Regions from separate parts of the Homo sapiens genome. Here all the other regions are linked to region 4. The links are contacts of gene promoters, found by promoter capture Hi-C in human tissues and cell types (Jung and others, 2019). All regions are on one chromosome and are shown on one strand. Each heading gives the region's core, a stretch centred on a gene start or on the middle of the fragment in contact. The rest is flanking DNA. Distances are from core to core; before and after follow the strand shown. Region 1 holds the start of ZFP42 (ZFP42 zinc finger protein). Region 2 has its middle 83 kb from the start of LINC02492. Region 3 holds the start of TRIML2 (tripartite motif family like 2). Region 4 holds the start of FAT1 (FAT atypical cadherin 1).

Region 1 (2,700 bases), core at 65-2,564, 1.3 Mb after region 4:
CAGTGAGGTGAGACGGTGCCACTGCACTCCAGCCTGGGGGACAGAGAAAGACTCCGTCTCAAAAAAGAAAAAAAAAGAGAAAGAAAAGAAAGGAAGGAAGGAAGGAAGGAAGGAAGGAAGGAAGGAAGGAAGGAAGGAAGGAAGGAAAATTATATTTTATTGGCCAACCTCAAAATTGAAGCTTATTCAGAAACAGATTTAAAAAAAGAAAAAAGTGGAGAACTGCTCCCAGATATATATGCAGAAAAGCTTCAAGTCAACATTTAGGAGGTTTTTAAATATCGATCTGGGTTTCGTTCTAATGGTCTGGGTGTACTTATACGACCTATTACATTTCACTAGACTGTAGCCAATAGTGAGCGTTGACTGACCATTGCTTTCAAAGTGAGTTGTGTTGCCTTTAGCAATACAGTCACATTAATGGCCAGAAAAAGAAAAAAGAAAACAAACACTGGGGGTGTTTGAAACAACTGGGGGTAGGGTGGGGTGGGAAAGGTGTGGGGGTTTGCGTTCGAGTCAACCTCTATTTCGGGGGGTAAAAACTGCCTCCTCCGCTTGATTTTTTTCCTCGATCTGCAAAAGCGTAAATGTTTTGTTTTGTTCTATTGAGATGGAGCCTCGCTCTATCACCCAGGCTGGAGCTTAGTGGCGCGATCTCGGCTCACTGCAACCTCCGCATCCCGGGTTCAAGCGATTCTCCTGCCTCAGCCTCCTGAGTAGCTGGGATTACAGGCGAGCACCACCATGCCTGGCTAATTTTTGTATTTTTCGGTAGAGACGGGGTTTCGCCATGTTGGCCAGGCTGGTCTCGAACGCTTGACCTCATGTGATCCCCCCGTCTCGGCCTCCCAAAGTGCTGGGACGACAGGCGTGAGCCACCGCGTCCGGCCTAAAAGGGTAAATGTGATTACACCCACGCGTATTTGTTCAACAGACATTTATTGAGCGCTCACCACGTGCCAACGCCGGGCGTCTGGGCTCTGGAGGCGCTGCCACGTGGCGGATGCGCAGTGCCCGGCGGCCGGGCTGAGGGGTGAACGCGGGGGTCAGGGGGCCCCGGGCTGAGGGTTTGCGTGCGGGCCGGGTGCCTGGGGGCCCCGGGCTGAGGGTGAGCGCGCCGCCCAGGTGCCAGGCGGCTCCGGGCAGAGAGTGAACGCGCGGGCCAGGTGGCTCCAGGGCGGCGCCCCAGGGCGGGGCCGGCCACGCCCTCCCTAACCCTGGCGGAGCTGATGGGTGGCTGTAGCCTGATTAGACCGCGTCAGTCCGGAGGGTGGGTCTTGGGAGGGGGCGCAGGGCAGTCCACGTTTCCACTGCAGTTTCTCCTTTGTTTTACGTTTGGGAGGAGGTGGCATTGGAAATAGCAGAGTGCTTCGCGGTAACAGGGGTGAGTCTTGTTTCATGGAACTTTTTTCAAATGGGGAGAAGGGGGTTGTGTTGCTCACTACTTGGAATGTGTCGGTCAAAGGGGTTAGATAGTCAGGGAGGGGAAGCGTGTTCTCATCCTGGGACCAGGCCGGAGCCGGCCTCGCCGGGAGACTTGTAGCCCTCGCCCTGCGGTGACCCGTGGCTGGCCACTGGCCTCAAATGTTGAAAACGGGCAGATGGGCAAGTAATACACTCTCAAGAAAGCAAGTGTCTGGCGGTGATTTCCTAAATTGCATTTTTTATTTTATTTCAAAACTTCATGTAAATATGTTTCCTTACAATATCTGGCTAAGTCTTTTCTATATTAACATGCTTACATTGTGATCAAGACACCAGTCTCTTCCCTTTCTTTTCCTCTCCTCTTATCTCTGGAGATGGCAATACCCCCAACTCAAATTACTCTAGCAAAAAACCTAGGAGACTCTTTCTTTTCTTTTTTCTTTTTTTTTGGAGACAGTCTCGCTCTGTTGCCAGGCTGGAGTGCAATGGCGCGATCTCGGCTCACTGCAACCTCCGTCTCCCGGGTTCAAGGGATTCTCCTGCCTCAGCCTCCCAAGTAGCTGAGATTACAGGCGCCCTTCACTGCGCCCGGCTAATTTTTGTATTTTAGTAGAGACGGGGTTTCACCATGTTGGTCAGGCTGGTCTCGAACTCGTGACCTCAGATGATCCGCCCGCCTCAGCCTCCCAAAGTGCTGAGATTACAGGCGTGAGCCACCGCGCCGGGCGAGACTCATTCTTGATTCCTGTTTCCCTTCCGCTCTTCATCCAATCCACCGGCGAGCTGCAGGGCGAGGGGGTGGTTCTTTCTCCTGTTTTCCCGCTCTCCCTGCATTTCATCTCCTCTGCCGCCATCTGCTCCAAACCCCTGGCAGCCCTTCGCGGGATTCCCAAATCTAATAGATTTTTCTGTTCTCCCCAAATCCATTCTCCATGCAGCTGTCCGGCCCATCTTCTAACCTAAAAAAACTTGCTGTTTGCTTGTTGGAAGCCCTGTAATGGTTTCCTTGGGACCTGGGATGAAATGCAAATGGTCCCGGGGCTCACCGTCAGCCCCGCGCCTGGGCCTCGCCCCAGCCCCCACCTTCCTGCCCGCCATAGCTGTAGGGAGCATGGAGCATGGAGCGTGGAGCGTGGAGCATGGAGCATGGAGCGTGGAGCATGGAGCATGGCCTGCAGCCCCCGGGGAGCGCCGGCAGCCTGGAACCAGCAGGCTTCGCTCGTCTCTTCCCACCCCCGTGCACTTTTCCTCCTGCCCACATCTGGCTCCGATGGC
Region 2 (2,700 bases), core at 72-2,571, 1.0 Mb after region 4:
CAGCATTTTTTCATATGTTTGTTGCCTTACCGTGTGTCTTTAGAAGTGTCTGTTTATGTCCTTTGCCCACTTTTTAATGGGGTTGTTTTTTGCTTGTTGATGTAAGTTTCCTATAGATTCTGGATATTAGACCTTTGTTGGATACATAGTTTGTGAACATTTTCTCCCATTTTGTAGGGTGTCTGTTTACTCTGATGATTTATTTTGCTGCACAGAAGCTCTTTAGTTTAATTAGGTCCCACCTGTCAATTTTTGTTTTTATTGTGATTGCTTTTGGAGTCTTAGCCATAAATTATTTGCCAAGGCCGGTGTCTAGAGTGGTAATTCCTAGGTTTCCTTCTAGGATTCTTATAGTTTTGAGTTTTGCATTTAAATCTTTAATTCATCTTGGGTTAATTTTTCTATATGGTAAAATGGAGTGATCCAGTTTTAATCTTCTGCATATGGCTAGTCACCTATCTCAGTGTTATTTATTGAATAGGGAGTCCTTTCCCCATTGCTTATTTTTGTTGACTTTTGTTGAAGACCAGATGGCTGTAGGTGTGCAGCTTTATTTCTGAGTTCTCTATTCTGGTCCATTGGTCTATGCATCTATTTATGTACCAGTACCATGCTGTTTTGGCTACTACAGCCTTATAGTACAGTTTGAGGTCAGTTAATGTGATGCTTCTGGCTTTGTTCTTTTTGCTTAGGATTGCAGTGTCTATTCAGGCTGCTGCTTTTTTGGTTATACATAAATTTTAGAATGGTTTTTCCTACTTCTGTGAAAAATGGCATTGGTGATTTTATAGGAATAGTGTTGAATCTGTAGATTGCTTTGGGCAGTATGGCCATTTTAACAATGTTGATTCTTCCTATATATGAGCATGGAAAGTTTTTTTATTTGTTTGTGTCATCTATGATATTTTTCAACAATGTTTGGTAGTTCTCCTTATAGAGATCTTTCACCTTCTTGGTTTGGTGTGTTCTTAGGTATTTTATTTTTGTGTGGCTATTGTAAATGGGATTGTTTTCTTGTATTGTAAATGGAAATGTTATTGGTTTATAGAAATGCTACTGATTTTTGTACATTAATTTGTATCCTAAAACTTTACTGAAGTCATTTATCAGTTCCAGGAGCCTTTTGGCAGAGTCTAGGATTTTCTAGATATAGAAGTATATAATCAGCAAAGAGAGATCATTTGACTCTTTTTTCTATTTGGATTCCTTTTATTTATTTTTCTTTTATAATTGCTCTGGCTAGCACTTCCAATACTATGTTGAGTAGGAGTGGTTAGCATGAGCATCCTTGTCTTGTTACAGCTCTCAAAGGTGGGGATGGTTCCAGTTTTGTCCATTCAGTATAATGTGGGCTGTGGTTTTGCCATTGATGGTTCTTATTATTTTGAGATATGTTTCTTCACTGCCTAGTTTCTTGAGCATTTTTTTATAAAGGGATGTTGGATTTTATGGAAAGATTTTTCTGCATCTATTGAAATATCATATGGTTTTTGTTTTTAATTTTGCTTATGTGGTGAATCACATTTATTCATTTATGTATGTTGAACCAACCTTGCATTTCAGGAATGAAACTATCTGTATTGCAGTGAATTAACTTTTTGGTGTGCTATTGGATTTAGTTTGCAAGTATTTTGTTGAGGATTTTTGCATATCTATGTTCATCAGGAATTTTGGCCTGTAGTTTTCTTTTTTCATTGTATCTTTGCCAGGAATTTGTATCAGGGTGATGCTGGCTTTGTAAAATGAATCAGGGAGGAGTCTCTTCTCAATTTATTTGAATAGTTTCAAATAAATAGCTTTTTTTTTTTTGTATATCTGGTAGACTTCAAATGTTAATCCTTCTAGTCCATGGATTTTTTTTTTTGGTTGGTAGGTTTTTTATTATTGGTTCAATATTATAACTCAATATTGGTCTGTTCAGTGTTCAATTTCTTCCTGATTCAATCTTGGGAAATTGAGTATTTCTAGGAATTTAACAATTTTGTCTAGATTGTCTAGTTTATGTGCATAGAGCTGTTCACAATACTGCCTGAGTATCTTTTGTATTTCTGTGAAAACGGTGGGAAAGTCATCTTTGTTGTTTCTGCTTCTGCTTATGTGAATCTTCCTTTCTTTCATTCTTTCTTTCTTTCTTTCTTTCTTTGTTAATCTAGCTAGTAGTCTATTGATCTTGTTTATCCTTTCAAATAACCAACTTTTGGTTTTGTTGATACTTTGTATGGGTTTTTTGTACCTCAATTTTGTTCAGTTCTGCTCTGATTTACTTCTTTTCTTCTGCTAGCTTTGAGGTTAGTTTGTTTTTGTTTTTCTAGTTCCTCTAAGTGTTATGTTCGATCATGAATTTTAGACCTTTCTGTGTTTTTGAGGTAGGTGAGTAGTGCTATAAATTTTCCTCCTAACACTGCTTTTGCTGCATCCCAGATATTTTAGCACAGTGTGTCTCTATTTTCATTTATTTCAAATAATATTTTTAATTTCTGCTTTAATTTTGTTGTTTCCCCAAAAGTCATTCTGAAGCAAATTGTTTAATTTCCGTGTAATTGTGTGGTTTTGAGAGATCTTGCTCATATTGATTTCTTTTTTTATTCCACTGCAGTCTGTGAGTATGGTTGGTATAATTTTAACATCCTTGAATCCATTGAGACTTGCTTTAGGGTTGAGCATCTGTTCAATCTTGGAGTATGTTCCCAAGATGAATTA
Region 3 (2,700 bases), core at 91-2,590, 1.4 Mb after region 4:
TCAATCTCCTGCCCAATTCCCAACATTTTTGCAATAGAATGTCTAAGGAGCACTCAAAATTAACATATCTAAAGCCGCTCAGGATCTCAACCCAGTGGCTCTCTTCCCCCAAACTCATTCCTTTAGAGCCACAGTTTAAGCCTTCCTTTCACCAATTCAACTATTGTTTTCCAAATTTATATTCTGTCCTGCCCTCCTCGTCCATCTCCAGCTCCTCTCTGCTCAACCACCAGAATACTATTTTAAAACCAAAACCAAGTGAGCAGGTTTGTGGTCACTTTCTATGGCATTAGAGTAAGATCGAAGTGGGTAATAACCCCGTCCTATACAATCTGGCCTCCTGCCTTCTTCTGATCTCTCTATAGCTTTCCCCCATCACTGTCAATCTAGCTGCCTCTAATTCATCACAGCCCTTCCCCCTTCCGTGGCCAACAGAGCTCTTCTCTCATATTTTTGCAATTCCAGCTGCCTCTTCTTTCTTCTCTTCAGTTCTCAGCTCAAATGTCTTCCCAAGAGAGACCTTTCCATCACTACTCAATTTGAAATACCTTCCCACTACTCATCTCCTTATTTTATTTTCTTAGTAGCGAAAAGATTTTATCTTTCTATGAACAAGTTTACTTGTGGGTCACTCTCCATCCATAAGAAACTAAGTCCTTGAGATGCCCTGTGTCTACATCTGACATACTCGATGCACAATAAATATTGTAAACGATATTTTATGTTAAACCAGTAAAAATTGAAGGTGTAATGAGAGAGGGACAGAGACTAAATATTTTTACAGAAACAGCAAAGGAAAATTGACGAATTAAGTCCCCAGCATGTTGTCTACCCTTATTTTGTTTTTCCTAATATTTTTCTTCAGGCTTTTTCCTGATAACACACAGATACACACACACACACATAGATTCTAAGATCAAGTTTAGAAATCTAAAGAAACAATTATTAAGAAAATGATCTATAGAGAAAATCTCACTTACTTTCTTTGTAGCAATCCTGGGTATTTCCTTTTTTTTTTTTTTTTTTTTTTTTGAGACAGGGTCTTGCTCTGTCACCCAGGCTGGAATGCAGTGGCGCAATCTCGGCTCACTACAGCCTCGAGCTCCCAGGCTCAAGTGATTCTCCCACCTTGACCTCCTGAGTAGCTGGGATTACAGGCGCTGCACGACCACACCCGGCTAATTTTTGTATTTTTTGTAGAGACGGGGTTTCAGTATTTTTCCCAGGCTGGTCTTGAACTCCTGGGCTCAAGCAATCTGCCTGCTTCAGCCTCCCAAAGTACTGGGATTACAGGAATGAGTCACCACACCGAACCAAGGTATTTCCTTTAGGGAAAAAGCTGGAACAGTGGAGACTGAAGAGATTTTATCTGTTCAATTCCTCCCTCAGCCCCGCCCTCACACCATCAGGAAGGCGTCTGTGAAGTTTCTTATCATATTCACACAATTAATCTCATTAGAACCACCTGAGTTTATTAAAACGCAAGCCTCTTCACAGGGTCTCTGATTCCAGAAATCTACGGTGGGGTCCGTAATTTACATTTTTAATGGACTCCCAGAAAATGCTTAATAGCCCTGACCTTGGTTGGATAAATATCTTGTTTTATCTCCAGTGCCATGTACAGTGCCTAACACCTCTAGCTCCTTAAGGTTTGGGGTTTTCTTTCTTAATGAATCTAGTGTATATTGACAATTTCACAGGAAAGAAGCCTTCGAGCTAACACTCAAGACTGTGTTTGTTCCTTAGTAGAAAATAATGCCTGACTTGTTAGTTTCTAGAACGTTTGCTGGAGAAGTGTTCATTCCAGTATCTGTGGAAAGAAAAACCAAGAGTAGGGATAACTGCCTATGGAATCTGTCACAGATGGGAGGTCAGGGAACAATCCCAGATAATTCATACTTGATATTTGGCTTCAGTGAGGAGGAACTCTTCACAGCTTTCTAAGTTTTATAGTTTTGTCCCCGAGGGTTTTTATTGCATCAGTCAGTCAATCCCCTGCTAATCAAACCAGGGAGTTTTTTTCTTTATGCTGCTGACAGGATAATGAGAATTCTTCTGCTTTGCTTATCTGATCTTTCAGAACCTGGTTCTACCTTATGGAATCTCAATACACCGTTTCTCTTTTTCTTTTTTCTTTCTTTTTTTTTTTTTTTAGATGAGAGTCTCACTCTGTTGCCTAGGCTGGAGTGCGGTGGAGCGATCTCGGCTCACTGCAGCCTCCGCCTCCCAGGTTCAAGCAATTTTCCCACTTCAGCCTCCCGAGTAGCTGGGATTATAGGCGCCCACCACACCCAGCTAATTTTTGTATTTTTAGTGGAGATGGGGTTTCACCATGTTGGCCAGGCTGGTCTCAAACTCCTGACCTCAGGTGACCCACCCTCCTTGGCCTCCAAAAGTTCTGGCCACCGCGCCTGGCCATACACCCTTTCTCTTATCTCAGATGATTACCTACACCCACTCTCTTTTCCAAAACCCAATTCCCCAGCTTTCTTCAAATAGACCACATTTATTCCTGTGCCCCCTCCCCTCCTCAGCCAGTCCATCCTCCTTTACTTCTCTTATTTTTCTAATCCAATCTTCCTTTCTCTTCTAAGCCTGGGTACGGCCAACGTCTGTGAAGATACTCACACATACTTGTTGTCAGATACTCTGTCATTTACTCTCACCATCCCTTGAGCTTTCATAACTCTTGAGCTTACT
Region 4 (2,700 bases), core at 194-2,693:
AGCATCACTCAAGGCTTATACCAATTGTTGTTTTAAAAAATTACATAGTGCTTTAAGTATTTTTACATCTTAAATACAAAGGAATAATTCTAACTGTGGAATCAGAGCTGTCTTCCTAAGACAAAAAGACAAAGACAAATATCACAATTAACTATTAACTGGAGAAACACCTTTTCAAACGTCCCTGTAACAACTGGATGTGTTGGACAGCATAACCAAACTCATTAAGAATAGTGTGAAAAACATCACCATTACCTAGTTCTCACACACAGATACCTTCTTAAACTATCGAAACCTGTATCTGAATATACGAAGCATTAAGAATCTGCTTTTGAAAAGGAAATGAATATCTGAAGGTCATTTTCTTTTCAATCTTTTCTCATACTAATAATCACTGTTAATATCCACTTTTAAAAAATCGCCTCTATCAGGCACCCGGGAATTGCTTAACAAAAGCCACTTAATGAAACCACAGTTCAGACAAAAAAAAAAACTTAACTGCATAGAAAATATTTATGAGTTTACTTTCCTAACTCATACAATTGCGTCCTTGTTTCCAAAGCCTTGCAATTCACATCAGCGGGAACAAAAAAATCTAACACACAGCAGAAAGCTGGCTCTCTAAAAGAAAGCATTTTTTTTTAAAGGCAATGAAGGACCAAAAACTCTTTCTTTTAAAAAGATCTTAGAAGTTCCTCCTCCAGAGAAGACAGAAAACACTGACAAACCGCACATTGTGCAGATGTTCAGCCCCGAAATGCAGCCTCGCAGCCCTTCACTCCGCAGTCCACCGGTTGCATCTGCACCTCCGGGCAGCGCTCCTGCAGGGCGCAAACACCCAGAGACCCAGGGACCCGGCAGCCCCGCGCAGGCCTCCCGCGTGCACCGCTCAGCGAGCGGGTCTTTCGCAGACGGCGGGATGCCCCAGGAGACCGCGAGGCCGGCGCAGCCCGGCGAGCTCCCGGAGGGAAGGCGGCGTGTCAGAAAGGATCGGACCCCAGCAATGGCCCCGGATCGGTCCCGCGCGGTCGCCTCCTTTTCCCGCTCCGCCGCCGGGACCCCCCTAGCCAGTGCTGAATTTCCCAACTGGGAAGGACCGAGTCACTCCACCCTCCGGGAAGTCGCGCGCTCATCCGTTTTCGGCAGCGCCGGAGCCCGAGCCGGGGACCGGGCGGACACCCACAGAGTCCGCACCGCAGCGCGCTGCACGCTCTCGCCCCCGCCCGCCGGCCCGCGCCCCAGCGAACTAACCGCAAAGTTGGCCCGAAGTGGCGACGGCGCTCTCGTGGAGCTCACCCGCCGTCTCAGCGCGCCCCCGAGCAGGGACCGGGCCTGCCGGGGCCCTCGCCGGGCTCGCGCGTCCGCATGGTACCTGCCGCACGAGCCGCTCCCGCGCCCTCTCCCCGCGCCCGGCCGCCCAGCTCGGCGCCGGCGCCTCACGCTCCCCGAGCGCAGGAGATCCCTCCGCCCCGGCCCCGCCCGCCGGCGCCGGCGCTCATTTCTCGGGCGCGGAAACTCGAGCCCACTTTCCCCGGCTGCCGGCTCTGGGACCGCGGGCTCGGCCACGCAGTCCCGCCCGGACCCAAAGAGCCCCAGTCCCTGCGAACACCAGGTCCGTGCTGGGAGACGAGAAGGCGCCCAGCGGGGTCTAGCGCGGCTCCGAGGGGCAGGGCGAGGCTTGTGATGCCGAGGTTAGTTACGGCCAGCCACAGGCGCTGTGCAAGGAATTGGGGAAAGCTCCCTGCCAAGAAAGGGAAACGTTAGCTTAGCTAAAAAAAAAAAAAAAAAAAAAAGGCTGGGGCCTAATGAGAAAGCTTCCCAGAGGCATCCCTTTAGCTTTTCCATAGCCTTCTGGGAGCCCCTGAATCTGCATTTGAATGGCGCGGCTCTGGGTCCGCGAAGGTTTGGTGGGCTGAAGTCGTCCTTCAGGTCTCCAAAGGAATGCAGCTAGGTCGGAATCTACTTCCTCCTTCAATCCCCAGAAAATGGAAACGCTTCCCCCGCGACCTTTTTCTGCCGAGTTAGACCCCAGGCCCTCCCCGCCGCGGGCGCCTGGCCTCCCCCGCTGACACCCCGGACGCCCAGGCCTGTGGGACAAAAGGCAGTCGCGGCGTCCCGCGGGCTTCCTAGCCCGGGAGTCGGCCCCAGGGGCCCCAAAGCGTGACCCCAGGCCGACAACTGCAAGTTCCTAGGCAGAGGGGAAGCCCCAGCGCCGAGAAGCCCGCTCCGAGAACTCCCCGCGCCGGGCGCCCAGCCTGAGCGTCCCGGGCGCGGAGCCCATCCCCGGTGCGGGCAGGGCTCCAGCCGCAGGCTCGGCGCAGGGCGGACTCGGCCGAAGCCCGGAGGGCCGGAGGCGCTGGGACGCAGCCCGGACAAGAGGGCGGACTTGATCTCGGAAAGTTTGTGGGACTCAGGCATTTTAACACTGGGAAGACAAAGAGATCCGATTTCCCTGGGACTGGTGAGGGGAGCTTGGCGGGGAGGGGAACGGCAGGGCAGTCAAGTGTGAAAGAGAATTTCCTGGGTTCAAAGTTAACGCAGTCACCTTATAAGCCATCTTAGAGGTGACCGGAAAAAATAATAATAATAAAGGTGTCTAGCAGGTTGTGGCTGGGAAGGAAAAATAATGCCTGCAAGATGAGTGTGCCGATTCGTAGCCCTATATTCCCTGCCCACCAGTTGGAATACACATAGATTCAC

Evidence for each region. The method cuts DNA at HindIII sites, captures the fragments that hold promoters and counts their contacts. A contact is called where the count stands out against the background at its distance.
Region 1: the fragment with the promoter of ZFP42 here is called in contact with the fragment with the promoter of FAT1 in region 4 in 1 of the 25 tissues and cell types used here (bladder).
Region 2: a fragment that was not itself captured here is called in contact with the fragment with the promoter of FAT1 in region 4 in 1 of the 25 tissues and cell types used here (lymphoblastoid cells).
Region 3: the fragment with the promoter of TRIML2 here is called in contact with the fragment with the promoter of FAT1 in region 4 in 1 of the 25 tissues and cell types used here (IMR-90 fibroblasts).

Annotation. Positions count from the first base shown.
Region 1 is chr4:187,994,457-187,997,156 of GRCh38, forward strand. ZFP42 (ZFP42 zinc finger protein) reads left to right here and starts at 1,315. Exons shown (of 4, transcript NM_174900.5): 1 at 1,315-1,384. RefSeq lists enhancers at 503-1,482, 1,483-2,464, 2,079-2,373. The HindIII fragment of the contact is 6,716 bases long and covers 1-2,700 here.
Region 2 is chr4:187,754,712-187,757,411 of GRCh38, forward strand. No RefSeq gene overlaps it. Among named protein-coding and RNA genes, the nearest start is that of LINC02492, 83 kb to the left of the region's middle. The HindIII fragment of the contact is 4,721 bases long and covers 1-2,700 here.
Region 3 is chr4:188,108,263-188,110,962 of GRCh38, forward strand. It overlaps TRIML2 (tripartite motif family like 2), which reads right to left and starts at 1,341. Exons shown (of 8, transcript NM_173553.4): 1 at 981-1,341. RefSeq lists an enhancer at 1-372. The HindIII fragment of the contact is 13,208 bases long and covers 1-2,700 here.
Region 4 is chr4:186,722,413-186,725,112 of GRCh38, forward strand. FAT1 (FAT atypical cadherin 1) reads right to left here and starts at 1,444. Exons shown (of 27, transcript NM_005245.4): 1 at 1,252-1,444. RefSeq lists enhancers at 885-1,386, 1,887-2,700. The HindIII fragment of the contact is 8,530 bases long and covers 1-2,700 here.